Regions from separate parts of the Homo sapiens genome. Here all the other regions are linked to region 1. Evidence: promoter capture Hi-C in human tissues and cell types (Jung and others, 2019). All regions are on one chromosome and are shown on one strand. Each heading gives the region's core, a stretch centred on a gene start or on the middle of the fragment in contact. The rest is flanking DNA. Distances are from core to core; before and after follow the strand shown.

Region 1 (4,892 bases), core at 1,765-4,264:
GGGAGGCAGAGGGTGAAGTGAGCCAAGATCATGCTACTGCACTCCAGCCTGGGTGACAGAGACCTTGTCTCAAATAGAAAAAAAAAAAGGTGGGGGGAGGGGGAAGAAAGAAACTGAATCTAGGATCTACCACTTATCAGGGGTGCAACCTTTTTTTTAAGATGGAGTGTTGCCCTGTGTCCCAGGCTGGAGTGCAGTGGTGCAATCTTGGTTCACTGCAACCTCCGTCCCCTGGGTTCAAGCGATTCTCCTTCCTCAGCCTCCTGAGTAGTTGGGATTACAGGCATGTGCCACGACATCCAGCTAATTTTTGTATTTTTAGCAGAGACAGGGTTGGCCAGGCTGCTCTCAAACTCCTGACTTCAGGTGATCCGCCTGTCTCGGCCTCCCAAAGTGCTAGGATTACAGGCATGAGCCACCATGCCCGGCCCTAGTGGGTGCAACCTTAAGCAAGACAGAGGATATTTACTTTCCTATATCGATATGAGTCAAGTGGGATGAATCATGTGAAAATGCTTAGCAGAGGACCAGTTTAGGTCAGGTGCTCAACATATCTTAGTTGAATTTGGCAAATTATTCATCTAGACTAGTGGTTCTCAATCAGCAATGGAATCACCTGGAGGGCCTTAAACCATAGCTTGCTGGGCCCCACCTCCAGAATTTCTGGCTCTTATCTATGTAAAGCGGGTCTGAAATTTGCATTTCAAGCAAGTTTCCAGGTGTTACTGATACTGCTGATCTGAGGATCACACTTAACCACTGACTATAAACTGATAGGTCAGGTGTGGTGGCTTCACACCTGTAATCTCAGCAATTTGGAAGGCTAAGGTGGGAGGAATTTGAGACCACCCTGGGCAACACAGGGAGACCTCACCTCTACAAAAAATTAGCCAGATGTGGGGGCACATACCTGTAGCCCTAGCTACTCAACTACCCAGCTACTCCTACTGAGGTAGGAGGACCACTTGAGCCCAGCCTGAGCAACATAGCAAAATCGTCTCTAAAACAAAACAGGCTGGGCGCAGTGGCTCACACCTGTAATCCCAGCACTTTGGGAGGCCAAGGGGGGCGGATCACAACGTCAGGAGATCAAGACCATCCTGGCCAATATAGTGAAACCCTGTCTATACCAAACATACAAAGATTAGCTGGGGTGGTGGCGCATGCCTGTAATCCCAGCTACTCGGGAGTCTGAGGCATAAGAATCGCTTGAAACCAGGAGGCGGAAGTTGCAGTGAGCCAAGATTGGGCCACTGCACTCCGGCCTGGAGACAGAGCAAGACTGTCACAAAACAAAACAGAGGACAAGAACAATCTGCTTGTTTAGTAAAGCATGCTCAATGCCTAATATATAGTTTCCAGCACAGCCTAAAGTGCAAATTTTTCAGTGAATAAACCACTCTGTGCCTCAGAATAACTGATATTTACTGTCAATAATATGAGAACAAACACTTTTGTTCACTGCTCTATTTCCAGACCCAAGAACATGGCTTGGCACACAATGTCAGCGCTCAGTGGGTTCACCCTGCCTGCTGCCTTGACAAAGCTGATTTATCAAGACCAGGGAATTGCAATGGAGAAAGAGTAATTCACGCAGAGCCAGCTGTGTGGGAGACCAGAGTTTTATTATTACACAAATTAGTCTCCCTGAGCATTTGAGGATCAGAGTTCTTAAAGATAATTTGGCGAGTAGGAGCTTGGGAAGCGGGGAGTGCTGATTGGTCAGGTTGAAGACGGAATCACAGGGAGTCAAAGTGAGGTTTTCTTGCTGTTTTCTGTTCCTGGGTGGAATGGCAGAACTGATTGAGCCAGGTTACTGGTCTAGGTAGTCAGCTGATCCAATGAGTGCAGGGTCTGCAAAACATCTCAAGCACTAATCTTAGGTTTTACAATAGTTATGTTATTCCTAAAAGCAATTTGGGGAGGTTCAGACTCTTGGAGCGAGAGGCTGCATGTCCCCTAAACTGTAATTTGTAATCTTGTAGCTAATTTGTTAGTCCTGTAAAGACAGACTGGTCCCCAGGCAAGAAGGGGGTCTTTTCGGGAAGGGGCTATTATCAATTTTGTTTCAAACCATAAACTGAATTCCTCCCCAAAGTTAGTTCCACCTACACCCAGGAATGAATAAGGACAGCTTAAAGGTTAGAAGCAAGATGGAGTCGGTTAAGTCTGATTTCTTCCACTATCATAATTTCCTCAGTTGTAATTTTGCAAAGGCAGTTTCAACAGCAGTGCTCGAAAAATTATGAAATCAACAAATAGTACTGAAAAGTTCAAATGAAGTCATATATGAAAAAGAAATCCTAGCACTGTTAGCTATAATTACTTAGCCATTAAATGGGGTACTAATAATTACTGCAGGAACTATCTTTTCCAACAGAGCGCAGAGATCTTTTGGCTCTGATAAAGCTCTGCACCTAAACAAAGGCGCTGTATAAAAATGGTTAATAACAATTGACCTTTACTGAGTGCTTACTATGATGCCAAGCGGCCTATGTGGCCTAATTTCATCCTCTGGGCATTATTATTTCCATTTTACAAGCTGTAGAGCCAGACCTCAGACCCCCACATGCAGGTTGACAACAGTTGGTGCCCTTTACCACCACCACACGTTCCGCAAATCTCATAACCAGCAAACGCCATGGGTGAGAGCAACCTAGCGGACGGAAATCAACGGGGTCAGGGGTCACCAGGAAGTGACTACAAGACTCTAGCTCAGAGGTCACTAATACGTCACAGGCAGAGTGAAGGGGCATTATTAAAGATAGTTTGACAAATTCTTTTTAATCTCATTTCTGTTGGTGAGGCCATAAAGTGACTGGAACATCTGAAAAAAAATGTCAGGAGGGAAATACATACGACTCAGCAGAGGCGCACAGGCGGCGGCCATGATGGGAAGATGAAAGAGGCGCATGCGCGGCATCCGGGTCCCCGAAATGCAGACGTGGCAGAAGAAGTGGCCCGGCCCTAAAGCGTGGAGGAGGAACTTCCGGGGGTGACGGGACGGCCCCCTCGGAACCGGAAGTGGAGCCTGGGAGCCTTGACGTTAGGAACGAAGTCTAACCTGGATCTGGAGCCGGGTGAGGAGTGGCATCGGGAGGTTGGCGGGTAGGAAAGCAAAGGAGAGGTCAGGGTATTACTGGCCAGATTGGGGTCCGGTTTCAGAAAGAAGGGAGGAGCCTGGGGGCGGGGCCTGGGTAGAGACCCTCACCTCACGCATCCACCATCCAGGAGCAGGTCCTAGACCATCCCTTCGTCTCCCGGCCCAGATTCCGGCTCCTGCTTCCTGCCCCGAGCCTGTTAAAAGGTGCAAGACGTTTGGTCTCTGTGCTTAACAGAGCAGCCCCCTCTCTTAACGTGGCCCTAGAAGCCGACTTGGCTTCTCGGTTTTGATCCTCGGCTCTCCGAGGCTCCATGGCTTGACTACTTTCAGAGTTCTAGGAAGCTTGCCCCGCCCCCTTGGGTTGTCACCCTCGACTATCCACCCAGAATGGAGTCGAGACTTCAGTCTGACTCCAAGCTCTTGAATGTGTTTGAGGGGATTATTTTCTGGAGAAGAAGCTCCTTTCTTTACCCCTCCCCCCGGCTTTGGAAACATAAAGGGAGAGGACATATTTTAAACTTAGTGTCAGTGACCTACCTCTGTAAGGTTTAGGGTTTGGAAGAACAGCTATTGAGATAACTTTGAGTTTAAAGAGTTTTAGACCAGGATCAGCTCCTTTTCTATAGTCAAGGTGGCCCTTCTAGCAAAGGGGGAGAGGTCCATTGTTCCCTTTGCAGCAACTCTGAGTGCTCCTGCTTTCTGGGCCCCTTCTGTCTACAGGATAATTGGAATGATACAGCTGTTGAAAGTAGATGTGATGAGATAGTTTTCTTGGAAGGACCCTGTTTAGAAAAGGCCCTCTAATTCATCCCTGTGTTGATGAGCAAGATTGTAATAATTTTGATGGTGGCTGAGATTCATAACAATCGTAAGGGGAGCAGAAACAGGAGAGTTGGAGAAGTGCATTGGAATTTAGAATATTCATAGTCTTCTGCTTGAGGGATGAGGTGAATGATTTTTTTCCATGAAATCTAACTCTAACTTTGCCCCTGATTCTTGAACTGTTTCCTCAGATTATGTGAAGAAGTTTTGGTGCCTGTTCTGCACTTGGTTTTAATCTGTTACCTTGCTAGAGTTTTCAGGTGTCCTTTATTTTTTATTTTTTTGAAAGGGCGTCTTGCTCTATTGCTCAGGCTGGAGTGCAGTGGCACGATCTCGGCTTATTGCAATCTCCGCCTCCCGGGTTCAAGCGATTTCTCCTGCCTCAGCCTCCCAAGTAGCTGGGATTACAGGCGTGTGCCACCATGCCCGGCTAGTTTTTGTATTTTTAGTAGAGACTGGGTTTCACCGTGTTGGCCAGGCTGGTCATGAACTCCTGACCTCAAGTGATCTGCCCGACTTGGCCTTCCAAAGTGCTGGGATTACAGGCATGAGCCACTGTGCCTGGCCAACTTTTATTGATTTTAATGCTTCGGTTTTGGCCGGGCGTGGTGGCTCACACCTGTGATCCCAGCACTTTGGGAGGCCAAGGTGGGTGGATCACGAGGTCAGGAGATCGAGACCAGCCTGGCTAACAGGGTGAAAACCTGTCTCTACTAAAAATACAAAAACTAGCTGGGTGTGGTGGCACGCGCCTGTAATCCCAGCTACTCGGGAGGCTGAGGCAGGAGAATCGTTTGAACCCAGGAGGTGAAGGTTGCAGTGAGCCGAGATCGCGCCACTGCACTCCAGCCTGGCAACAGAGTGAGACTCCGTCTCAAAAAAAAAAAAAAAAAAAAAAAACCTTCAGTTTTAAGGTCCATACACTCTTTTGGTGGAAAGACTTGGGTTGGAGTATCATTTGTATTAT
Region 2 (4,892 bases), core at 1,091-3,590, 470 kb before region 1:
AGTATATTATGGTCTTCCATACTGGCCCTTTTAGTTTAAAGATGAGGAAATTGAGGCCCAATAAAGTTAGGTGACTTGCCTCAGATCCTAGAGCTAGTTAGGGGAGAGCTGGGGTAAGAACTCTTTTTATTTGTTTTTCTTCTTTTTTTTCTTTTTTTTTGAGACGAGGTCTCACTCTGTCACCCAGGTTGGAGTGCAGTGGCACAATCTCAGCACCCTGCAACTTCTGCCTCCCAGGTTCAAGTGATCCTCCCACCCCAACCCTCGAAAGTAGCTGGGACCACAGGCGCTCCCCACCATTCCTGGCTAATTTTTTGTAGAGGCAGGGTTTTGCCATGTTCCCCAGGCTGGTCTTGAACTCCTGGGCTCAAGTGATCCACCTGCCTCAGCCTCCCAAATTGCTGGGGTTACAAACGTGAGCCACTACACCCAGCCAGACCTCAGGTATTTTTAAAATGTTGATATTTGGGATATTTACACTAAAGAGAAAATCTAGTAATTTTTGTTTGGTTCATTTCTCTTATAATAATACTCCCTGCCAATTTGGTGTCATACTGTCCAGTGGAAAACTGAGGGCTACTGTCGTTATTCCCAATGTGATCTTAGACTGATACGCAAGTTATTTAAGTCTAACTATGGGAGAGTTATTTTTAATAGGTAAAGCACCTATCATGAACTCCCACATTACCCTCCACCCAATATCCCATCTAAATCAAGGACAAGCACCCTCAGCCAGCATTTCAATGGGAAGAAATGATTCAGAAACACTAGTAGAACATCTCCTTCATCAATCTGTGACCTAGTTTATGTTGTGATACAATATTGCTCCTATTTTTAGAACTTCCTTTCCAGAGAAACACACCTAAATATATTATTTTTAAGCATGTTCCAAGTACAGCCTGCCCAGACTTGGCCCTTCCTTTGTCATCAGCATAATGATTACACCTAGAGCTTATCAGATTTCAGCTACCATGCATTAATGGCCATCTGCTGCCCCTTGCTTACTTGACCCCTCACCTCTGTGCCCTAAAAGGGCATTGTGTAAGGATAATAAACACTCACTTTCAGGCAGACCAGAGCCAGATATGCCCATACTTCAGCATTGTAGTTGTTCAATGCATTGGCTTCAGAAAGAGCATCCTCAGCCTCTGTGAGCTCCTCCAGCTTGACAGAAAAATGAGACATGTGAGTTAGCTTAGCTGAAACCACTATGTCCCAATAATACTGGTGTATATGACCTATACCAATGGTTTTCAACTTTTTAATATTTTTAGCATCAGAACTCTTTTCTTCAAAGGAAATCTTATGTGGTGGTTCAATATATGAACCAATTAAAAGTAGAAGAGCTCTGATTAAAAAGCCAGGTCGGGGATTCTGAAGCCCTGCCTAGTAAGCTCTTAACTTATACCCCTTTCTTCCTTCCCTCTACAGCGGTCCCATCAGGACATCTATAAACCATGGAGTTTCAGGTGCAAGGTTGGAAATCCACAGGAACTCACTCTCATGTGTGCATCATTCAGTGATTTCTCCACACACAGTGGGCTGTCAGATACATTTATAGTTTTTTTTCTTTACATTGTGCATCCTTTTCTTGAGGTAAAAATCTGATTTGCCTGTTGAAATACTATTGTCCAGAAAGCTTTCTTTCCCCTAGTATCAGTTATTAACAGCCCAATCCCGAGCAATCAATGCAGTATTCAGAAACTCTAGGGTGCACTCTGGGCTCTGGGCACGTGGAAATTGTTGCTGCTTCCTAAAACTGTGAGTTTGCTTTGTTGCTTTGTAAAACATTCCAAAAGGCTCTCCCTTCCCCAGTAAAGTAGCTCTTTTTTTCCTTTCTTTTTTCTTTTCTTTTCTCTTTTCTTTCCTCTCCTCTCCTCTCTCCTCTCCCCTCCCCTCCCCAGCCACCCTTTTCTTTTCTCTTTTCTTTTCCTTTTCTTTTCCTTCCCTTCCCTTCCCCTCCCCTCCCCTCCCCCTCCCCTCCCCTCCCCTTCCCTTCTCTTCGACAGAGTCTCGCTGTACTGCCCAGGCTGGAGTGCAATGGCATGATTTCAGCTCACTGCAACCTCCGCCTCCCAGGTTTAATCGATTCTCTTGCCTCAGCCTCCCAAGTAGCTAGAATTACAGGTGCCCACCACCACACCCAGCTAATTTTTGTATTTTTAGTACAGACGGGGTTTCACCACATTGGCCAGACTGGTCTCAAACTCCTGGCCTCAAGTGATCTGCCCACCTTGGCCTCCCAAAGTGCTGGGATTACAGGCATGAACCACCTGTGTCCAGCCTACTTTTTCTGCTTTAAAATAATTAAATAATGGGTTTCTAGGCCAAAGACAAGAGATGGCCTTTCACCCACACCCATACTTTGGCCCACACTTTGAAGTCTCTGAGACATTGATTCATTATTTAATCAACCTACATTTGCCAAGGATTTGCTCTGTGTCAGGCAGTATGCTAGATGCTGGGAGTAAAAAAATAAAATCCCGTAGTCCCAGGTACTCAGGAGGCTGACGCAGGAGGATCAACCGAGCCCCGGAGGCAGGGATTGCAATGAGCTGAGATTGAGCCACTGTACACCAGCCTGGGTGACAGAGCAAGATCCTGTCTCAAGTAAATAAATAAAATACAATATCTGCCCTCAAAGGGCTCACTGACAGATGTGTGAAAAACAAAACACAGGCCGGGTGCGGTGGCTCACGCCTGTAATCCCAGCACTTTGGGAGGCCGAGGTGGGAGGATCACCTGAGGACAGGAGTTTGAGACCAGCCTGGCCAACATGGCGAAATCCTGTGACTACTAAAAACACAAAAATTAGCTGGGTGTGGTGGCACATGCCTGTAATCCCAGCTATTCAGGAGGCTGAGGCAGGAGAATCACTTGAACCCAGGAGGCAGAGGTTGCAGTGAGCCAAGATGGCGCCACTGCACTCCAGCTTGGGTGACAGAGCTATAAGAAGATACCAATACTATACTGTTAAGTCGAAAAAAGGTTACAAAGCAGTAAATATTTACATTTTATACATTAAAATTGCTTTCATATATATGAAAAAAGACGGGAGGAAAGTACATTCAAATGTTAACAGTGGTTATCACCAACTTGTGGAGTTACGGATACTTTAATGTTTTCTTCATATTTTGTATCTATTTGTCTATTTATTTTTAGAGGTGAGGTTTTGCTCTGTCACCCAGCCTGGAGTGCAGTGGCACAATCATGGCTCACTGCAGCCTCTAACTTCTGTGTTCCCACCAAGCAATCCTCCCACCTTAGCCTTCCAAGTATCTGGGACTACAGGCACATGCCACCATGCCTGGTTAATTTTTAATGTTTTTGTAGAGATGGGGGTCTTGCTCTGTTGCCCAGGTTGGTTTCTCTCAAACTCCTAGGTTCAAGAGATCCTTCAGCCTCAGCCTCCCAAAGTGCTGGAATTACAGGTGTGAGCCACTGCTCCTGGCTTCTTCTAAAGTTTCTATAATGAACACATATTATCTTTATGGCTGAAAAACAGCAATGAGGGGCTAAGTGAGGTGGCTCACACCTGTAATCCCTGCACTTTGGGGTGGATCACTTGAGGTCAGGAGTTCAAAACCAGCCTGGTCAATATGGTGAAACCCCATCTCTACTAAAAATACAAAAATTAGCCTGGCATGGTGGTGGGCACCTGTAATCCCAGCTACTCAGGAGGCTGAGGCAGGAGGATCACTTGAACCCAGGAGGCAGAGGTTGCAGTGAGCTGAGGTGACACCACTGCACCACTGCACTCTAGCCTGGGAGACAGAGCGAGACTCCATCTCAAATAAATAAATAAATAAATAAATAAGTGAGTAAGCTATTCAAAGAAAGGGAGAGACATGGAGTCAATAATATGCCTGAAGAAATTAGGCAGGAACAAGAGGATGTTTGCCTCTTTGAAGACTGGAGGAAATGAGGGAAGGTTAAGTAAAGAGTTTTTAGGAGAAGCAGAGCAAAAGCTTCTGCCAGAAGTTACAGCAACTCCTCCTGCATATCAAAGGGTCACAGTGCTTAGTAAGTGTCAATCAATTTCTTTAATTGACTTGAATAGATTCTTCATCTCCCATATCACCTTTTTCTTACAGATAATATCACAAAGGAGTGTCTATACCAAATAACATGAATTTTTTTTATTATGTAGCTTCTTGGTTCAGGTTTTTCTGGGATTTTTTAAAAAGATCTTTTATTTTTCTAGCTAGTTAAGTGACCTTCAGTTCACTGAACACCTTTGAAGAACAACTTTTCATTACAGCAGACAGCCCTGATTGCTATTCCAATGTCATCACAAACCCCCAGGATGCTTGGAAGGCCAAGGAATCAAGGTCAGCTGTATCCACAGCCCTAGTCTCAAGCCTTCATCCTCTTACCCGATAGCAGGCGATTCCCAGTCCTAGCCAGGTAAGGCATGAAGGTGATCTCTTACAGGCTTGCATATAGGTTTTCTTTGCCTTTTCATACTGTAGAAAGAAAGCACCACTAAGCTACTGTTCTAGAAGCTTCAAACCCCATATTGCTGGGATGATCATGGGATCTCTGATAATTGCTCTCCAGAACAATCTAAGTTAAGCAAGTCCTTTAATTGTACTTTGACGTCTACCTTAAGGGAGTTATCGCAAGAAGATTGGTGAGAGGAGATGGATAGATCACATGAAAGAGCAGACTTTCACTTGGAAGTAGTTCCAAAGACATTTATAGTCTCTGTAAGAGTTGAGGCAAGGAGTTACACTGAAAGTGGGGGCAACCATCATGATTATCTGAATTCCACCTCCACTTCATGGATTACTCCCTTTCACTTAAATGCAACATCATGTGGTGGCATGACAAACATACAATCTCTGGACTAAAAGGTATACTTGATACAGCCTCATCATTTTACACCTTTG
Region 3 (4,892 bases), core at 1,457-3,956, 400 kb after region 1:
AACTTACTACAAAACTACTATGTGGTATTGGCACAAGGACAGACCTACAGATCAATAGAACATTAACCCTTACATTTATGGTCAACTGATTTTCAACAAGGGTGCCAAGACCTGGGTGACCAGTTGGAGAGAGAACAACCTTTTCAACAAATGGTACTGGAACAACTGGATTTCCACATACAAAAGAATGAAATTGGATACAAAAAGCAACACAAAATGTATCAAAGACCTAATTGGAAAAGCCAAAATGATAAAACTCTTAGAAAAAATATGCATAGATTTTGACTCTGGATTAGACAATGTTTTTTAAGATACGATACCAAAAGTACAGACAAGAAAAATAAAAAATAGATAACCCAGAGTCCATCAAATTTAAAACTTAGTGCTTCAAAGGACATTATCAAGAAAGCAAAAATTCACAAAATGATAGTAAATATTTGAAACCATATATCTTAAAGGGACCCCTATCCGGAAAATATAAAGAACTTTTACTCAATAATAAGAAGGGCCAGGTGTGGTGACTCACAACTGTAATCCTAGCACTCTGGGAGGCTGAGGAGGGAGGATTGCTTGAGCCCAGGAGTTTGAGACCCCGTCTCTATAAAAAAATTTAAAAACTAGCCAGGCATAGTGGCTCATACCTGTAGTCCCTGCTACTTGGGAGGCTGAGGTGGGAGGATTGCCTGAGTCCAGGAGTTTGAGGCTGCAGTCAACTATGATCCCACCACTGCACCCTAGCCTGGGTGACAGAGGGAGACCTTGCCTCTAAAACATAAAAAATAAATAAATAAACAAGCCAATTAAAAAATGGGCAAAGGATTTGAAAAGACATTTACTCAAAGAATATATACATACAAACGAATCTTACAAATACGATGTTGAATAAATGAAGCCAGATGCAAAAGAATATACACAGTATGATTCCATTTATATGAAGTTGTAGAACAGGCAAAACTAATCTACGTTAAATCAAATGGTTTCCTTTATGGAGAGTGGAGGGCCATGGGGATGATCTCCTAGAGTGCTGGTAATGTTTTATTTCTTTTTTATTTTCCTTTTTTTTTTTTTTTTGAGATGGAGTCTTACACTGTCGCCCAGGCTGGAGTGCAATGGTGTTATCTCGGCTCACTGAAACCTCTGCCTCCCAAGTTCACGAGATTCTCCTGCCTCAGCCTCCCTAGTAGCTGGGATTACAGGCACACACCGCCACACCTGGCTAGTTTTTTTTTTTTTTTGTATTTTTAATAGAGACGAGGTTTCACTATGTTGGCCAGGCTGGTCTTGAACTCCTGACCTCGTGATCCGCCTGCCTCAGCCTCCCAAAGTGCTAGGATTACAGGAGTGAGACACCGCACCTGGCCAATGTTTTATTTCTTGACCTGCATGATGTTTACAAGCTGTGTTCCTTCTATGATAACTCATTAGGCTTTACATTGTGATTTGCATACTTTCTGAGTGTTAGTTATGCTTCCTATAAGAAGTTTATTGTCCCTGCAATATGGGGGACAATGGAAAAATGTCTAATTATCTTACCTTGTTCCTATCTTTTACGTGTATAAGCACCAGTATCAGGTGTTTAGTCTAGTGGCTCAATCATTCCAAGTAATAGTACTATAGTCTAAGAAGAAAGAATTTAAGACCTATGAATACAGTTTCTATGAATGAAGATAAATTCCAAAGAGGAAAGGAAGACTTTCCAGAATTGATTCATTTGATTCTGTTGACAGAAAACAACATCAACCCTTTCTTTTATGAAAGCGGCTGACATTTAAAGAATATGTGGTGATGATCTCCTCTTCCCATTCGACACATGTTCAGTAGTTATCAATAATACTAGTTACTAAGATATGTTTTAGTAATTATTGTATTAATAAAGTATGAATACTGTTAACAGTTTAGGGTTCCTGTTTAATTAGAACCAAAAAATTTCTTTGTTTAAAGCCCTCTGTTTAGCCAAGAAATCAACTTGAGTTATTAGCAATAAACTCTGACACCTCAGGGTTGGAACCTGCCAAATTTTTCTACTTTATCTAGTCAGATGCTTTGCTTAGTAGGCTTGCTTTGTGTCTTATATTTCTGTCTGGGTATTAATATAAGTGCCATTAGAATACTTAGACTTGCTATATAGAACCTGCTGATTTTAACTATAATCTTTAGCTGATAAACTTTTCATTTTCATTTTTTAAATGAAACAGGAATATCCAACCATAAGATCTGCAACTAAATTTTTATTATTACACCTTTTTCTTGGAAGAAAATCAGCATCTGAAATATATAATGTATGACTTCAAGTGGAGCACTGTAATCCACAAGCAGACTCAGATTTGGGCACTTCAGGTGAGTCACATATGGAACACAGCATTCTTTGCAAAAATTAATCTTTTGGCCCCATTCAATGTGGTTATTTTTGGCCAGGCACAGTGGCTCACGCCTGTAATCCCAGCACTTTGGGAGGCCAAGACTGGTGGATTACCTGAGGTCAGGAGTTCAAGGCCATCCTGGCCAGCATGGCAAAACCCTGTCTCTACTAAAAATACAAAAATTAGCCGGGCATGGTGGCGTGCGCCTGTAATCCCAGCTACTTGGGAACAAAGCTTGTTTGTTTGTTTGAGCAGAGTCTCCCACTGTCACCCAGGCTGGAGTGCAGTGGTGTGATCTCTGCTGACTGCAACCTCCGTCTCCCATGGGCAAGCAATTCTCGTGCCTCAGCCTCCTCAGTAGCTGGGATTACAGGTGTGCACCACCATGCCCAGCTAGTTTTTCTGTTTTTAGTAGAAATGGGGTTTCACCATGTTGGCCTCAAGTGATCCGCCTGCCTTCGCCTCCCAAAGTGAAGCTACTGTACTCAGTCCCCATTCAAAGTGTTTTATTCATTAAAGATAATGAATAATAAATGAATTAATACTATCTAAAATGTATTGAGTACTTATTATGGGCCAGACACTATGCTAGACACTTTATCTCATCTTATTTTCACAATGCTACACCATAAATACTACTATTATCCCCATTTTACAGATAAGACAATGTCATCTCAGAAAAGTTAGGTCAATTACCTAAGATCACGCAGTAAGCTAGGATTCAAACCTAAATCCAGCTGAATTCTGAGCTCCTGCTCTTATCTGCCTTGTAGAGACTAATTATTAGGAACACGTTCTAATACAGCACTGTCCAACAGGGCTTTCTGCAATGATGGAAATGTCCTTTATCTGTGCTAATATGGTAGCCACTACACCCATGGCTATTGAGCACTTGAAATGTGGCTAATGTACCCAATACTGAAGTTTTAATTTTTTTGAAATTTTAATTAATTTTTTTTTGAGACGGAGTCTTGCTCTGTCTCCCAGACAGGAGCGCAATGGCGTGATCTCTGCTCACTGCAAGCTCCGCCTCCCAGGTTCACACCATTCTCCTGCCTCAGCCTCCCGAGTAGCTGGGACTACAGGAGCCCGCCACCACGCCTGGCTAATTTTTTGTATTTTTAGTAGAGATGGGGTTTCACCATGTTAGCCAGGATGGTCTCGATCTCCGGACCTCATGATCCACCCGCCTCGGCCTCCCAAAGTGCTGGGATTACAGGCGTGAGCCACCATGCCCGGCTTTTTTATTTTTATTTTTTTTTTGAGATAGGGTCTCGCTCTGTTGCCCAGGCTGGAGTGCAGCTGCGTCATCTTGGCTCACTCCAACGCCCACCTCCAGAGCCCAAGCGATCCTCCCACTTCAGTCTCCTGAGTAGCTGGGCTTACAGGCGTGCATCACCACACACAGCTGAGTTTCAAATTTTTGTTTTGTAGAGACAAAGTCTGCCTATATTGCCCAGGCTGATCCTGGACTCCTGGGCTCAAGTGATCTTCCCACCTTGATCTCCCAAAGTTCTGGGATTACAGGTGTGAGCCACCAAGCCTAGCCTGAAGTTTTAATTTTAATTAATTTAAATTTAAATAACCATATATGGTTAGTAGTTAATATATTGAACAGTGCATGAATGTGCTGCTTTAGCTTATGATTTTTTTTTTTTTTTGAGACGGAGTCTTGCTCTATTGCCCAGGCTGGAGTGCAATGGCACGATTTCCTCTTACCACAACCTCCGCCTGCTGGGTTCAAGCGATTCTCCTGCCTCAGCCTCCCGAGTAGCTAGGATTACAGGCATGCGCCACCATGCCCAGCTAATTTTTTGTATTTTTAGTAGAGATGGGGTTTCACCATGTTGGCCAGGCTGGTCTCGAACTCCTGACCTCGTGATCCGCCCGCCTCAGCCTCCCAAAGTGCTGAGATTACAGGCATGAGCCACTGCACCCAGCCTAGCTTATGATTTAAGAGGAGGAGGTAAAAGACATTTCTTGTTTAGTTAGGAGGCAAAAGACATTCTAGTTGTTATGCTGAGGAAGTTTAATAAATTATTTAGAGTGGAAGTTATATTTAAAAGCACCGACACAGGTTATCTAAAATCATTCATCCTATCGAAAATATAGTTCACAAGGATTTATAGTGCTCCTTTGCCACAATACACTCTGAAAGAGTTGCTTGTTTTGAAAGTAAGTGATTTTGTAGTTACTTTATTTTAGGGCCAGATCTCTACTCATCCTCTTAAGCTGGTGAAAAATTCTTTCCAGGAAAGTTTCCACCGAAGTTGTTTTTATTGGCAGTAGTTCAGGTCTCAGAATACAGAAAGTTAAACCAGCCTCCTAGATTTATTGTTGTTATCCTTAGTGCTGAGATGAAAGCATAACACTTGTAAGTTCTCGACTGTGCTTAGCTTTAAAACCCATCTTAACCTTCTATAATAGGAAAAGAGAGCTTACTTCTTCTATCCATATTATGACCAAGGTCTAATGCATATAACAATTAAATAATACCATGTTGCAGTGTAAATTAGCCTGTTTCTTTATTTA
Region 4 (4,892 bases), core at 1,771-4,270, 370 kb before region 1:
TGGTGAAACCCCATCTCTACTAAAAATACAAAAGATTAGCCAGGCGTGGTGGCACGTACCTGTAACCCCACCTACTCAGGAGGCTGAGGCAGGGGAATTGCTTGAACCCGGGAGGCAGAGGTTTCAGTGAGCCAAGATTGTGCCACTGCACCCCAGCCTGAGCAACATAGCAAGACTCTGTCTGAAGAAAAAAAAGCAATATAACTATACAATGGACTATTCAGCCACAGAACAGAATGAAGTACTGATTCATGCTATACCACAGATGAACCTTAGAAACAGTATGCTAAATGAAAGAAGTCAGACACAAAGGGCTACACATTGTATGATTCCAGTCATTTGGAAAGTCCAGAATAGACAAATCCCATAGAGACAGAAACTAGATTAGTGGTTGCCAGGGGCTGGGTAGGAGGGTGAGGAATGAGCAATGACTACTGATTGGGTACGGGGTTTCTTTTTTGGGGTGATGAGAATGTTCGATAATTGATTGTGGTGACGGTCGCACAAATTTGTGAGTATGGTGAGAACCATTGAATTGTACACATTATTTTTGAGAGACGGGGTCTCACTTTGTCACCTAGGCTGGAGTGTAATGGCACAATCATAGCTCACTGTCACCTCGAACTCCTGTGCTCAAATGATCCATCCTCCTGCCTTGGCCTCCCAAGCAGCTAGAACCACAGGTATGCACCACCACACACAGCTAATTTTTTAAATTATTTTCTTGTAGCAACGGGGTCTTGCCATCTTGCCCAGGTTGGTCTCAAATTCCTGGGCTCAAGCAATCCTCCCGCTTTGGCTTCCCAAAGTGCTGGGATTATGCACAGCTGAATTGTACACTTTAAAAGGGTGAATTGTATATATGAATTATAGCTCGTATTTTTAAAAGTTTAAAAATATGTTGCTTGGGAAAGGACTCTGGGAAGATGGCAGACAGAGTAGGAAGCACCAGAAATCTGCCTCCCCACCCAGGCTGTCTGAGGTAACTATTTTGGAATTCTGGAGTCTATTGAAGGTTTGCAACTTCCAGAGGAAAACTTGGATGGCAATTTGGACTTTTTCAATTTTCGCTCTTAGCACAGTAGTAGCTACCCATCCTGTGGGAGGCGAGTGTGCATTTGTTCCTGTAGGAGCCTGCACATAGCCTGTGGGAGCCAGGATAGGCAAAAAAAGTATCCTATCCTCCAAATATGAGATATCTGTGCTGATTACTGAACACTGCTTCTGATCACAGGGGTATAGACAAAGAAGCAGGGGCCATTGTTGCATCTCCCCCAATTGTTGCAAGTCTCTCCCTCTCCAGGTGAAGTGACGTCCAGGGGACTGAAAGGTCTGGTACGTGTGTCTTTATCCCAACCCTTCATTTTTCTCTTTTTCTCCCTTTGGGGGGCAGACATTAAAGACAAGGACATTCAAAAGCAACTACATATATGGGGAAAATTAGAAAGTGGCCACCCACACCCAGAGAAAGGCACAGGCTCAAAAAGACCTGAGAAGACCTTAAGTTTATACCTCAGTATGGTCCTTGGCCCAGAGACAGCCTACAACAATTAAAAAACAAAAACAAAAAACAATAAACAAATACAGTAACAAAAAATAGCAAACCCTGGGGAAAGGGGAGAATCCAATTTCCAGAGTTACCACATTATCAAACCCAAATGTATAATTTTCAATGAAAAAAATCACAAGGCATACAAAGAAACAGGAAACTATCCCCAATCAAAAGCAAAAATAAACAGAAACTGTCTCTAAAAAAAGACCTGGTGACAGATCTATTACACAAAAAAATTTTAAAACCTGTCTTAAAGGCTGGGTGTGGTGGTTCATGCCTATAATTCCAGCACTTTGGGAGGCCAAGGCAAGAGGATCACTTGAGGCTGGGAGTTCAAGAGCAGCCTGGGTAACACAGTGAGACCCTGTCTCTTAGAGAAAAAAAAAAAAAAAAGAAGAAGAAGAATTAAAAAATAAGCCAGCCAGGTGCAGTGGCCTGTGTCTATAGTCCTAACTAGCTACTTGGGATGTTGAGGCAGAAGGCTCACTTTGAGCCCTGGAGTTTGAGGCTGCAGTGAGCTTGGATTGTGCCACTGCACTCCAGCCTGGGTGACAGAGCGAGACCCTTGTCTCAAAACACAAAAACAAAAAACTGTCTTAAAGATATAAGGCCAGGTGTGGTGGTGGCTCATGCCTGTAATCCCAACACTTTGGGAAGCCAAGGTGGGCAGATCACTTGAGCCCAGGAGTTTGAAACCAGCCTGGGCAACACAGTGAAACTCCATCTCTACTAAAAAATACAAAAAATTAGCTGGATGTGGTGGCACACACCTGTAGTCCCAGCTACTTGGAGTCTGACATGGGAGATCAACTGAGCCAGGTAAGTCGAGGCTGCAGTTAAGCTGTGATTGCGCCACTGCACTCTAGCCTGTGCGACAGGAGTGAGGCCCTGTCTCAAAAAAATAAAATAAAATAAAAGAGATGATCAAAAAACTAAAGGAAGATATGGAAAAAGCCAAGAAAATGATGTATAAAGAAAATGGAAATATCAATAAAGAGATAGAAAACCTAAAAAGAAACCAAACAAATTCTGGAGCTGAAAAATACAATAACTGAAATGCAAAAATTCACTAGCAGGATTCAAAGGCAGATTTAAACAAGCAAAAAAAAGAGTAAGTCAAATTGGAGACAGGACAATGGAAACTGAGTCTGAAAAACAGAAAGAAAAAAGATTGAGGAAAAGTGAACAGAGCCTAACGGACCTGTGAAACACCATCAAGTGGACCATCATACACATTGTGGGAATTCTAATGGGCAAGAAATAGGAAGAGAAAATATTTGAAGAAATAATGGCTTAAAAGCTTCCCAAGTTCTATGAGACATGAATATAAACACCCAAGCAGCTCAATGAACTCCAAGTAGATGAACTTAAAGAGAGCCACATTAAGACACATTTTAATCAATCGAAGTTTCTTTTTTTTTTTTTTTTAAGATGGAGTCTCGCTCTGTCACGCAGGCTGGAGTGCAGTGGCACGATCTCGGCTCACTGCAAGCTCTGTCTCCCGGGTTCATGCCATTCTCCTGCCTCAGCCTCCCGAGTAGCTGGGACTACAGGCGCCCACCACCACGCCCAGCTAATTTTTTGTATTTTCAGTCGAGACAGGGTTTCACAGTGTTAGCCAGGATGGTCTTGATCTCCTGACCTCGTGATCCGCCTGCCTCAGCCTCCCAAAGTGCTGGGATTACAGACGTGAGCCACCGTGCCCAGCCTTTAATCAAACTTTCTAAATCCAAAGAGAGAATCCTGAAATCAGCAAGAGAGAAGTGATTTGCCACATACAAGATATTTTTAATAAGATTATCAGCAGATTTCTCATCAGAAAGAATTGGATGATATAGTTAAAGTGCTAAAAAAAAAATTGTCGACCCAAGAATCCTATATCTGGCAAAACTGTCCTTAAAAAGTGAGGAAGAAATTTAGACATTCCTAGATAAAAGCTGGGAAAGTTCATTACCACTAGACCTGCCCTACAAGAAATGCTCAAAGAAGTCCTAGTCCTGCAGGATGAAATGAAAGGAGACTAGACAGTAACTTGAAGCCACATGAAGAAATAAAGATCTCAATAAAGGGTAAATACATGGGCAATTATAAAAGCTAATGTTATTGTAATAATAGTCTGTGACGATACTTTTGGTTTTCTACATGATTTGAGATGAACACATTAAAAAAAACTAAACACTAGCATAACTGTAATTTTGGTTTGTAACTCCAAATTTTGTATTCTACGTAATTTAAGAAACTAATGTATTTAAAAGAATTAGTTTATGTTTTGGGTCACACAATGTAAAAAGATGTAATTTTGTGACATCAACCAAAAGGGGTGAGGACACAGCTGTTAGAAGAGTTTGTATATGTCACTGAAGCTGGCATAAATTTAGTGTTATAACTTTAGGATGTTAAATGTTATCCCCATGGTAACCACAGAGAAAATAGCTATAGAATATACACAAAACAAAGGGAAATGAATTTAAATGTTTCACTACAAAACAACTAAACACAAAAGACAGTAATGCAGGAAATGAGGGACAAAAAAGCAGTAAGCCATATGGAGAACAAATAGCAATACAACAGAAGTTCTTATCAGTAATTACTTTAAATGTAAATAGATTACATTTTCTTTTTTTTAATTTTTATTTTTGAGATGGAGTCTCGCTCTGTAGCCCAGGCTGGATTGTAGTGGCATGATCTCAGCTCCCTACAACCTCCACCTCCTGGGTTCAAGCAATTCTCCTACCTCAGCCTCCCGAGTAGCTGGGATTATAGGCGCATGCCACCACACCCGGCTAATTTTTGTATTTTTTGTAGAGACGGGGTCTCACCATGTTGGCTAGGCTGGTCTTGAACTCCTGATCTCAAGTGATCCGCTGGCCTCAGCCTCCCAAAGTGCTGGAATTACAGGTGTGAGCTACCACGCCCAGCCAGGATTAAACGTTCTAATCAAAAGACAAAGACTGGGCTGGGCGCGGTGGCTCACGCCTGTAATCCCAGCACTTTGGGAGGCTGAGGCGGGTGGATCACGAGGGCAGGAGATCGAGACCATCCTGGCTAACACGGTGAAACCCCGTCTCTACTAAAAATACAAAAAATTAGCCAGGCGTGGTGGCGGGCACCTGTGGTCCCAGCTCTACTTCGGAGGCTGAGGCAGGAGAACGGCGTGAACACGGGAGGCGGAGCTTGCAGTGAGCCAAGATTGCACCACTGCACTCCAGCCTGGGCGACAGCGCGAGATCCATCTGAAAACAAAAACAAAAACAAAAACAAAAGACAAAGACTGGCAAAATGGATTTTTTTTTTTTTTGAGACGGAGTCTCACTCTGTCACCCAGGCTGGAGTGCAGTGG
Region 5 (4,892 bases), core at 680-3,179, 330 kb before region 1:
TTTTTTTTTTTTTTTTGAGACGGAGTCTTGCTCTGTCGCCCAGGCTGGAGTGCGGTGGTGCAATCTCAGCTCACTGCAAGCTTCGCCTCCCAGGTTCACACCATTCTCCTGGCTGAACCTCCCAAGTAGCTGGGACTAAAGGTGACTGCCACCACGCCCAGCTAATTTTTTTGTATTTTTAGTAGAGACGGGGTTTCACCATGTTAGCCAGGATGGTCTTGATCTCCTGACCTCGTGATCCACCTGCCTCGGCCTCCCAAAGTGCTGGGATTACAGGCGTGAGCCACGGCGCCTGGCCTTCACTTTCCTTAATCACTAACCTCTGAACACAGTGGCCTTCGGTCCAAACATACCAAGCTTGTGACCAAATGCACCAGATTCTCAGGACCTTGGCACTTGCTATTGCTTCTACTGGGAATGTTCTCCATGGTGTCATCTCAAATGTGGTCTCCTGGCTGGGTGAGTTGGCTCACACCTATAATCCTAGCACTTTGGGAGGCCCAAGGCAGGCAGATCACTGAAACCCAGGAGTTGGAGACCAGCCTGGGCAACATGGCGAGACCCCATCTCTACAAAAAACACAAAAATTAGTCAGGCATAGTAGTGTGCACTTGTAATCCATCTACTTAGGAGGCTCACAGGGGAGAATCACTTGAACCTGGGAGGCAGAGGCTGTAGTAAGCCAAGATCTCACTACTGCACTCCAGCCTGGGTGACAGAGCCTGACCCTATCTCAAAAAAACAAACAAAAAATGTCATCTCCTCAAGGTATTTCCTGAACATTAGTAGCTGCCACCAGCACAACCACCACTAGCAGCTATGCTCATTATTTAATTTTCCTTATACCACTTAAAAGCATCTGAAATTCTGGCCGGGCGCGGTGGCTCACGCCTGTAATCCCAGCACTTTGGGAGGCCGAGGCGGGCGGATCACGAGGTCAGGAGATCGAGACCATCCCGGCTAAAAACGGTGAAACCCCGTCTCTACTAAAAATACAAAAAATTAGCCGGGCGTAGTGGCGGGCGCCTGTAGTCCCAGCTACTTGGGAGGCTGAGGCAGGAGAATGGCGTGAACCCGGGAGGCGGAGCTTGCAATGAGCCGAGATCCCGCCACTGCACTCCAGCCTGGGCGACAGAGCGAGACTCCGTCTCAAAAAAAAAAAAAAAAAAAAAAAAAAAAAAAAAAAAAGCATCTGAAATTCTGTGTGTTTACTGTTTCTGTCCCCATCTAGAATGTAAGCTCCTTGAGAACAGGGATATCTTTAGAGCCTAGTAGTGAGTGTTTGATAAATAATTGATTGTCTGATTGACTACAATAGGGCCCCCAAAACCCAAGCCAACTACTTCGTCTGGTGATCAGCCAAATACAGATTTATTTCCAGCACTGGGAAAAACTGGCTCTGATAGACCTACTGAGAGAACCCATGTGCTACCCTAAAGGATTTTCAAAGGTAGTTTTGAAAATTTTTTTTCATTTCATATGCTGACTTTAGAAAACATAACTCCATTATATTGTCCTTGCTTATGTCAGTCTCCTATAAGGGCAGAAGCCATCTTAGAATCCTCAGCATTTGACAATAAGCTAGGCATTTGGACTTTTGTGTACTATCACCACCATTCTACTAAATTGGATGTTTTTGCGCCACCTGTTACTGTGTAGTTTCTAATTATATTCTGGCTGACAGATACATCACCCTTCATCCATCACAATCAGCAAACAAATCCTAGATTTTACTTTCATGTTCTACCTGCAAAATGTCACTATTTACTTTACTTGTAGTTAAAAATTACCTCTTGCTCTCCATACCTACTGATATAATCTTAGCTGACACCTACATTATCTCGTCTGAACCATGACAATAGTGTCCTAACTGGATTTTCCATTACCAAACCATCTTACACACTACTGCTAGTTCAATCTGTGTTACTGAGCAAAATTCAAAATGATATTTATCAAATAATAGCTACTAAGGACATACTATTTGCTAGGTACTGTGTTAAGGATTTAAATATCCTTATTTTTTACATTCTCTAAGATTAGAAAAATTTGGTAATAGCTTTATTGAAATATAATTCACCCATATAATGTGTACAATTCAATGATTTTTAGTACATTCAGAGTTGTGCATCTACCACCACAATCAATTTTAGAATGGTTATATCCCATATCCTTTACCCGTCGCCCCCAATACCCCCATCCTTCCCCTCCACATGTAGCCACTAATCTACTTTGTCTCCATAGACTTGCCTATTCTGAACATTTCATATAAATGCACTTGTACAATATGTAGTCTTTTGTAACTGGCTTTCATATTGTAACATGAATCAGTATTTCATTACTTTTATGGTCAAATACTATTTCCTTGTAAGGATTTACCACATTTTGCTTATCCATTCATAAGCTGATGGATATTTTGGTTGTTTTCATCTTTTGGCTGTCATGAATAATGCTGCTATGAATATTTATATACATATGATTTCATTTCTCATGGGTACAAACCTATGAGCAAAACTTCTGGGTCAAATGGTAAGTCAATTTTTAACTTTTTTTTTTTTTTTAAAGAGACAGGGTCTTGATTCGTTGCCCAGGCTGGTCTTAAACTCCTTGCTTTAAGCAGTACTCCTAGCTCAGCCTCCCAAAGTGCTGGGATTACAGGCGTGAGTCATCATTACCTGGCCCTCAATGTTTAACTGTTTGAGGAACTGCCAGACTGTTTTCCAAATTGGCTGCATCATTTTACATTCCCACCAGCAGTGTATGAAGGTTACAATTTCTTCACATCCTCATCAACATTTGTTACTACCTCTTTTTTTCATCATAGCCATCGTAGTGGGTATGAAGTGGTATCTCATTATAATTTTAATTTGTATACCTTAATGATTGATGATGTTGAGCATCTTTTCATGTACTTATTGGCCCTTTATACATCTTTTTTGGAGAAATGTCTGTTCAGATCCTTTGCCCATTTTTAATTGGGTTATCTGTCCTTTTAAGTTGTAGGTCCCTTATCAGATATATAATTTATTAATATTTTCTCTCATTCTTTTTTTTTTTTTTTGAGACAGGATCTCGCTCTGTCACCCAGGCTGGAGTGCGATCATGGCTCACTGCAGCCTCCTGGGCTCAAGCGATCTTTCCACCTCAGCCTCCCAGGTAGTGTGACTACAGGCATGCGCCACCATGCCCACTAATTTTTTTTTTTTTGTAGAGATAGGTCTATGTTGCTTAGGCTCATCTTGAACTTCTGGGCTTAAGCAGTCCTCCTGTCTTTGCCTCCTAAAATGTTGGGATTACAGGTGTGAGCCACCACACCTGGCCTAAAATTTTAAATTTTGATAGTCTAATTTATTTATTTTTATTTTGGTTGCTTGTGTTTTTGGTGTCATACCTAAGAAAACATTGCCAGATAAGTTCACAAAGATTTTCCCCTTTTTTTTCTTTGAAGAGTTTTAGTTTTGGGTATTTGAACCATTTTGAGTTAATCTATGTATATTGTGTGAGGTGGGGGTATAGCTTTATTCTTCTGCATCTGGATATCCAGTTGTCCCAGCACTATTTGTTGAAAAGTCTGTTCTTTTCCCAATTAATTGTTTATGTACCCTTGTGAAAAATCAATTGACCATAAATGTTAAGGTTTTTTTTTTCTTTTTTTTTTTTTGAGACAGATTCTCACTTTTCACCCAGGCTGAAGTGCAGTGGCACAATCTTGGCTCACTGCAGCCTCAACCTCCTGCGCTCAAGCGATCCTCTCACCTCAGCCCCTCAAGTAGCTAGGACTACAGGTATGTGTCACCATGCCCAGCTAATTTTTTTTGTATTTTTTTTAGAGACGGGGTTTTGGGATGTTTCCCACACTGGTCTCAAGCTCCTGGGCTCAAACGATCTGCTTGCCTTGGCCTCCCAAAGTGCTGGGATTACAGGCATGAACCACCATGCCCTGCTATTCTTGTTACAGTCTGAATGTTTTGTGAGCCTCCTCCACCCCAATACATACACATACACATACATACACCACACATACACAAATTCACGTGCTGAAATCCTAACCTCCGGCTTTAGGAGGTGGGATCTTTGGGAAATTATTAGGTCATGAGGGCAGAGCCCTCATGAGTGGGATTAGTGTCCTTGTAAAAGAGGAAAGAGTGAGCTCAGTCGCCCCTTCCACAGTAAGAACATGCCCTTCTCAGACACGAAATCTGCTAGTGCCTTGATCTTGGACTTTCCAGCTTCCAGAAATGTGGAAAATAAATTTGATGTTTACAAGCCACACAGTTTACAGTATTTTGTTACAGCAGCCCAAGCAGACTAAGACAATTCTCAATTCTACTGCACTGACCTTATGTCTATTCTATGCCAGTATCACATTGTCTTGACTACTACTATTTTGTACAGGTTGAGCATCCCTAATCCAAAAATTTGAAATTCAAAATGCTCCAAAATCCAAAGCTTTTTGAGTACCGAGATCCAAAATGGTCCAAAACCTGAAACTTTTGGAGTGCCGACATAGCACTCAAAGGATACGCTCACAGGAGCATTTTGGGTTTTCAGATTAGGGATATTGAACTGCTAAGTATACAATTGATTATAGGTTTTGGAACTGGGGGCCGGGCACAGTGGCTCATAATCTCAGCACTTTGGGAGGCTGAGGAGGGTGGATCTCTTGAGCTCAGGAGTTCAAGACCAGCCTGGGCAACATGGCAAAACCCTGTCTCTACAAAAAATACAAAAATTGGCTGGGCATGGTGGCTTGCACTTGTGGTCCCAGCTACTAGGGAGGCTGAGGTGGGAGGATCACTTGAGCCCGAGACTCTGTCTCAAACAACAAAAAAAAGAAATTGGGATGTGCGAGTCCTCCAACTTTGCAAACATTTTCGTTTAACTTCAATATTAAT
Region 6 (4,892 bases), core at 1,661-4,160, 270 kb before region 1:
TCAAATTTTCAGGGAAGGTGGGGAAATGAAAATCTCTGGAACGGAAGGCAAAGGAAAAAAGCAGTAAAAATAAAGAGAAGAATGTATCCCTCAAATGAGATGAAACTGAATTAATTAAAAAAAAGCTCAAATACAAATCTTCATGGGGCAGTGATAAGACTGTGGAGGTAAAAGAAGGAAATAAGAAAGGGAAAGAGAACCTAGATCAGTGAACATAAAACAAGAAACATGATAAACTAAACAAGTAGACAGTGCAAATAAAATCATCAAAGCAGCAGCAGCTTTATACAAATAAGAAAACATCCTCAATAAGGGAAAAGATTTAAGAAAGGGGAGTTTGAGAAAATCATGTTTGGTTTTGCTTGATGCACTTAACTCAGAGCACGTTTTACAAAATGGCTTTTCCAAGAGACAAGTTGTGGAATGGGGTTACATATTACTTAGTTTCACATTTTGGATTTTTATTTATTGTTCTCTCCCCTCCATCTTACAGTTATTTATAAAGAAATCTGGATACTAATAGTTTCAAACAACACCCCTTTTTTATTATATTAAAAAAAGTCAATTAAAATACTAAGTTGTTTAACAATTTTTTTTATCAACAATATCTTACCTTTATTATTGTAGACATCTAAGTAATTAGGTGCCGAAAAAATTGTTATTAATGAAGGGAACCCTGTAGTTTGACTTTTTCTGTACATTCTATAGCTGCAAAACAAATAGCTTAATATGCATCGTAAAGCATCAATCATGGTTACTAAGTTTGATTTATATTTTAGGTGTTAATTTGGGTCAGGGAAACAGAATTCTTACCCTGCATCTTGAGCTTCATGAGCTCTAATAATCGATAACAAATTATTGTTTTGCAAAAATTCACACACTGCTGGATAGCTGTGGGGGAAAAAGAGTAAATTAAGTAAAATAATGGCTTTTCTGTATGAAGCATATGCTATGTTAACAACTAAAATGTGATTAATCTTGGATATTTTTCCTTACTTATAAAAATAAGAACATCCTCGAACTGTATTGTGACTAAAATGTTCCTGTGATTTTTCATTTCCAAAATCTTCAGAAGGATCGGACCATAACAAGTCACACATTGGTCCAAATGCAGGTGGCTCTTTGAATCTATCTAACTGTGAAAGAAAGAAAAGAAAGAACAGAAGTAACTCATCAAAAAGTAAGGATAAAATGTGCATAGGAAAACGATACCAACTTTGAATACAGTTCATACTATATTATTGTGAATAAACAGAAGTTATTTCCTTAAGATATCAGTATACTAATTTTTACTATTACCTAATCTTGGCAGTGAAGTGAAGTTTGAAACTTCTGCTCTACTCAACAATGTACTATAAATAGAAATCAATCTCGGAAGTAAAATATATACTTACTCTCCTAATATCATCCAGTGTGTGTATTTCTGGTGAAAGTCCACCATGAACACAAAGAAACTGTTGGTTTAAAAGTGCAGCAAGAGGCAAACTATCAAAAGCTTCCATACAAGCTTCATAGACTCTTTCCGAATACTTAATTTTACCTAGAAAAACAAAAAACTAATTGAAAATTACATTACTGGTGGTGGTGTGACCATTTTAAAAACATATATATTAGATTTTTATTTCTTGTTCTCTCCCCTCCTTTATATCTTATAGCTATTTATAATGAAATTGAGATAGTTACAGTTTCAACTGTAGTAATAGCCCAGACAGACAGACAGACAGATGGCAAGAAAATTATAGACAGTAAACAGCAAAGTGGTGGCCAGGGCTTCAGAGTGAGTGAAGGGGTGACTATAAAAAGGTAGCAAGAGAGAACTTATGGCATGATAAAACTTTTCTGTATCATGATAGTGGTAGTGGGCAACTCTATGCAGTGTCAAAAGTCACAGAAGTAAATACCACAGAGAATAAATCTTACTGCACACAATTTTTTTAAGGAAAGCATCTTCCCCTATAAGAATCAACAAAAATATGCAAAGTTATCTGTCTTATGAAGACAAAATATTTGCTCTCTCTAAAATTATTCTCGATGATGTTATGTCTTATGAAGCAAAATATTTGCTCTCTAAAATTATTTTGGATGACAGAAAAGTCATCACGTATTGTTAAAAATAAGTCAGTCAAATCTCTAAAAACAGGCCAGGCACGGTGGCTCACGCCTGTAATCCCAGCACTTTGACAGGCCAAAGCAGGCAGATCGCTTGAGGCCAGGAGTTTGAGACCAGTCTGGCCAACATGGCAGAACACTGTCTCTACTAAAAATACAAAAATTAGCCAGGCATGCTGGTGTGCACCTGTAATCCCAGAGACTCAATGGGTGAGGAACAAGAATCACTTGAACCCAGGAGGTGGAGGCTGCAGTGGGCCGAGATCGTGCCACTTGCACTCCAGCCTGGGCGACAGAGCAAGACTCTGTCTCAAAAAAAAAAAAAAAAGAAAGAAATCTCTTAAAAACAGCTCAACCCTTCACCTTTATCGGCCAAATAAGGCAAAATTAGAACTGTACTTGAGGTTAAAATCATTTTAATACTTGCTTTATTTTATTCTAAGAGTCAATGACTACTTTATTCTTATTACAGGCAAGATGACTACATCATCACAACAAAATTCAAGGTTCATCCATTTTTTCTGAAAAATAAAAGATAATAGCATGCTCATGTCAGAAAAGCTGAGGGGTTCCTCTTGCCTACAATGAATACTTTAAAATGGGCAGTGAAGCAGGAAGCCAATATAGAAACACAAGAAAGACAAAACTCTACCAAATCAAACTATCATTTACTTTTAGAGAGATATCATGCACTTTCATTTGCTCCTTTACAACTTTAAATTCCTATTTTGGTTTTGATGAGATTTTGGTAGGTGGTTTGTTATTTATCTAGGCAAAGAAAAAGAACTTAGTTCCTATTTCCTGTTTTAATACTGTAATATTCAAATATTAAAAAAACTATATATATATCCAGCAACCAGAGATTCTACACTGGCAGTCTGCTAACGACTCTGTTTTCTAGCACTGTGGTTTAATAAAAATTCTAATTTGACTGCTTTTAGGTCAAGCATGCACTTTCCAGGTCTTATCTTACTCATTTAGGTTAACTGCCTGATCCTTGAAGTTATAAGAGTATGCCACTTCTGCCACTACCCATCACTGTATTTTTCTCCTGTTGCTGCAAGTCTCTACTTAGTATGACCTTTATTGGATCATGTTTTGAGTCTCAAAACGTTGAAATTATTTCTGCTTTTAGAATTTAACTCTACTTAATACAGTCATAAATATTAACTTAAAAAGCACAAAGGCAGGCCAGATGCGGTGGTTCACACCTGTAATCCCAGCACTTTGGGAGGACGAGGCAGGTGGATTACTTGAGGTCAGGAGTTAAGAGACCAGCCTGGCCAACATGGTGAAACACCGCCTCTACCAAAAATACAAAAATTAGCAGGACGTGGTGGCGCATGCCTGTAATTTCAGCTACTTGGGAGGCTAAGGCAGGAGAATACTTGAACCCGGGAGGAGGTTGCTGTGAGCCGAGATTGTACCACTGCACTCCAGCCAGGGCGACAGAGCGAGACTGTCTCAAAAAAAAAATAAAAATAACAAAAATAATAAAAAAGCACAAAGGTTTGAGGTGTGAAAAAGGCCTAATCTTGTTCTGTAACATATGGTTACTTACAGGTATTAGATTACCATTGCTATAATAATTTGAGAGAGAAAAGGGATAAACATTGCAGGTTAAGAATTTCACCAACTGTACCTGACTAGTCTTAAAACAATGATATTTAAAAAAACAAAAAAATTTTAAGAAGAATTTCAATCATTAATAGCATGATTGAAATGATCTGCAATGGTAACAGGATAAACAATTTGTTAGGATTCCTCACAGGAATGCCTCAAGATTGAAGGACAAAAATCTCCAATGCAAAATAACATTTTTTTCTTTTGGTTTTTATTTTTTCCTGTTAGAAAAAATATATACATTTTTTTTTCCTGAGACAGAGTTTCGCTCTTGTTGCCCAGGCTGGAGTACAATGGCGCGATCTCGGCTCACTGCAACCTCCGCCTCCCAGGTTCAAGTGATTCTCCTGCCTCAGCCTCCTGAGTACCTGGGATTACAGGCACATGTCACCACGCCTGGCTAATTTTTGTATTTTTAGGAGATGGGGTTTTGCCGTGTTGGCCAGGCTGGTCTTGAACTCCTGACCTCAGGTGATCCACCCGCCTCGGCCTCCCAAAGTGCTGGGATTACAAGCGTGAGCTACCGTGCCTGGCTTAGAAAAATTAATTGTAACATTAAAACTTATATATAAAACTCTAAGTATGTTTGTAAAAGTTAAACATAATAAGAAATTCTGAAATGAAAAAAAATTTTTTTTTTTGAGACAGGGTCTGACTCTATTGCCCAGGCAATTGTCCGTGCAGTGGCATGATCTCAGCTCACTATGACCTCCGATTCCCAGGCTCAAGCGATCCTCCCACCTCAGCCTCCTGAGCAGCTGGGACTACAAGAGTGTGCCGCCACACCCAGCTAATTTTTTTTTTTTGTATTTTTGGTGGAGATGGGGTTTCACCATGTTGGCCAGGCTGGTCTCCAACTCCTGAGCTCAGGCAATCCCCCTGCCTGGGCCTCCCAAAGTGCTGGGATTACAGGCGTGAACCACCATGCCCCACCAAAAACTTCTTAATACCATTAAACACCAGAGAGTGCTCGACAACTTTCCTCAAAGCTTTATGTGTGGACATGAAATCTGTCCTTACATGTTGCACTGTAAAGTCTTCAAAACTCTTACTACCCACTTAAGTCCAAAAGAATACTGAGGAAGTGAAAACATTTCTTCTGGCAGTACTCACATTCCTGCTTAAAGGTAAAATATTCAGTAAGGTGTCTGCATTCATGG

What was found. Contacts are between HindIII fragments. The study calls those that stand out against the background at their distance.
Region 2: a contact is called between a fragment that was not itself captured here and the fragment with the promoter of SEC24C in region 1, in 1 of the 25 tissues and cell types used here (H1 embryonic stem cells).
Region 3: a fragment that was not itself captured here is called in contact with the fragment with the promoter of SEC24C in region 1 in 1 of the 25 tissues and cell types used here (aorta).
Region 4: a contact is called between a fragment that was not itself captured here and the fragment with the promoter of SEC24C in region 1, in 1 of the 25 tissues and cell types used here (pancreas).
Region 5: a fragment that was not itself captured here is called in contact with the fragment with the promoter of SEC24C in region 1 in 1 of the 25 tissues and cell types used here (pancreas).
Region 6: a fragment that was not itself captured here is called in contact with the fragment with the promoter of SEC24C in region 1 in 1 of the 25 tissues and cell types used here (dorsolateral prefrontal cortex).

What each region holds. Positions count from the first base shown.
Region 1 is chr10:73,741,358-73,746,249 of GRCh38, forward strand. It overlaps SEC24C (SEC24 homolog C, COPII component), which reads left to right and starts at 3,015. Exons shown (of 23, transcript NM_198597.3): 1 at 3,015-3,080. LOC124902453 (a long non-coding RNA gene) reads right to left here and starts at 2,908. Exons shown (of 2, transcript XR_007062195.1): 1 at 2,860-2,908; 2 at 1,607-1,854. RefSeq lists enhancers at 1-123, 2,357-3,556, 2,396-2,963, 2,634-3,063, 2,964-3,530 and 1 more. The HindIII fragment of the contact is 12,749 bases long and covers 1-4,892 here.
Region 2 is chr10:73,268,552-73,273,443 of GRCh38, forward strand. It overlaps CFAP70 (cilia and flagella associated protein 70), which reads right to left. Exons shown (of 28, transcript NM_001367801.1): 25 at 4,377-4,466; 26 at 1,063-1,164. DNAJC9-AS1 (DNAJC9 and MRPS16 antisense RNA 1) reads left to right here. Exons shown (of 4, transcript NR_038373.1): 3 at 4,262-4,407. Among named protein-coding and RNA genes, the nearest start is that of MRPS16, 18 kb to the left of the region's middle. The HindIII fragment of the contact is 3,792 bases long and covers 445-4,236 here.
Region 3 is chr10:74,140,660-74,145,551 of GRCh38, forward strand. The region is part of intron 1 of AP3M1 (adaptor related protein complex 3 subunit mu 1); the gene reads right to left. Among named protein-coding and RNA genes, the nearest start is that of AP3M1, 7.7 kb to the right of the region's middle. The HindIII fragment of the contact is 7,040 bases long and covers 1-4,892 here.
Region 4 is chr10:73,368,113-73,373,004 of GRCh38, forward strand. No RefSeq gene overlaps it. Among named protein-coding and RNA genes, the nearest start is that of CFAP70, 12 kb to the left of the region's middle. The HindIII fragment of the contact is 7,434 bases long and covers 1-4,892 here.
Region 5 is chr10:73,416,981-73,421,872 of GRCh38, forward strand. No RefSeq gene overlaps it. Among named protein-coding and RNA genes, the nearest start is that of ANXA7, 5.4 kb to the left of the region's middle. The HindIII fragment of the contact is 5,847 bases long and covers 1-4,853 here.
Region 6 is chr10:73,470,074-73,474,965 of GRCh38, forward strand. It overlaps PPP3CB (protein phosphatase 3 catalytic subunit beta), which reads right to left. Exons shown (of 14, transcript NM_021132.4): 4 at 4,846-4,892; 5 at 1,395-1,540; 6 at 997-1,136; 7 at 814-891; 8 at 614-708. Among named protein-coding and RNA genes, the nearest start is that of PPP3CB-AS1, 23 kb to the right of the region's middle. The HindIII fragment of the contact is 5,523 bases long and covers 150-4,892 here.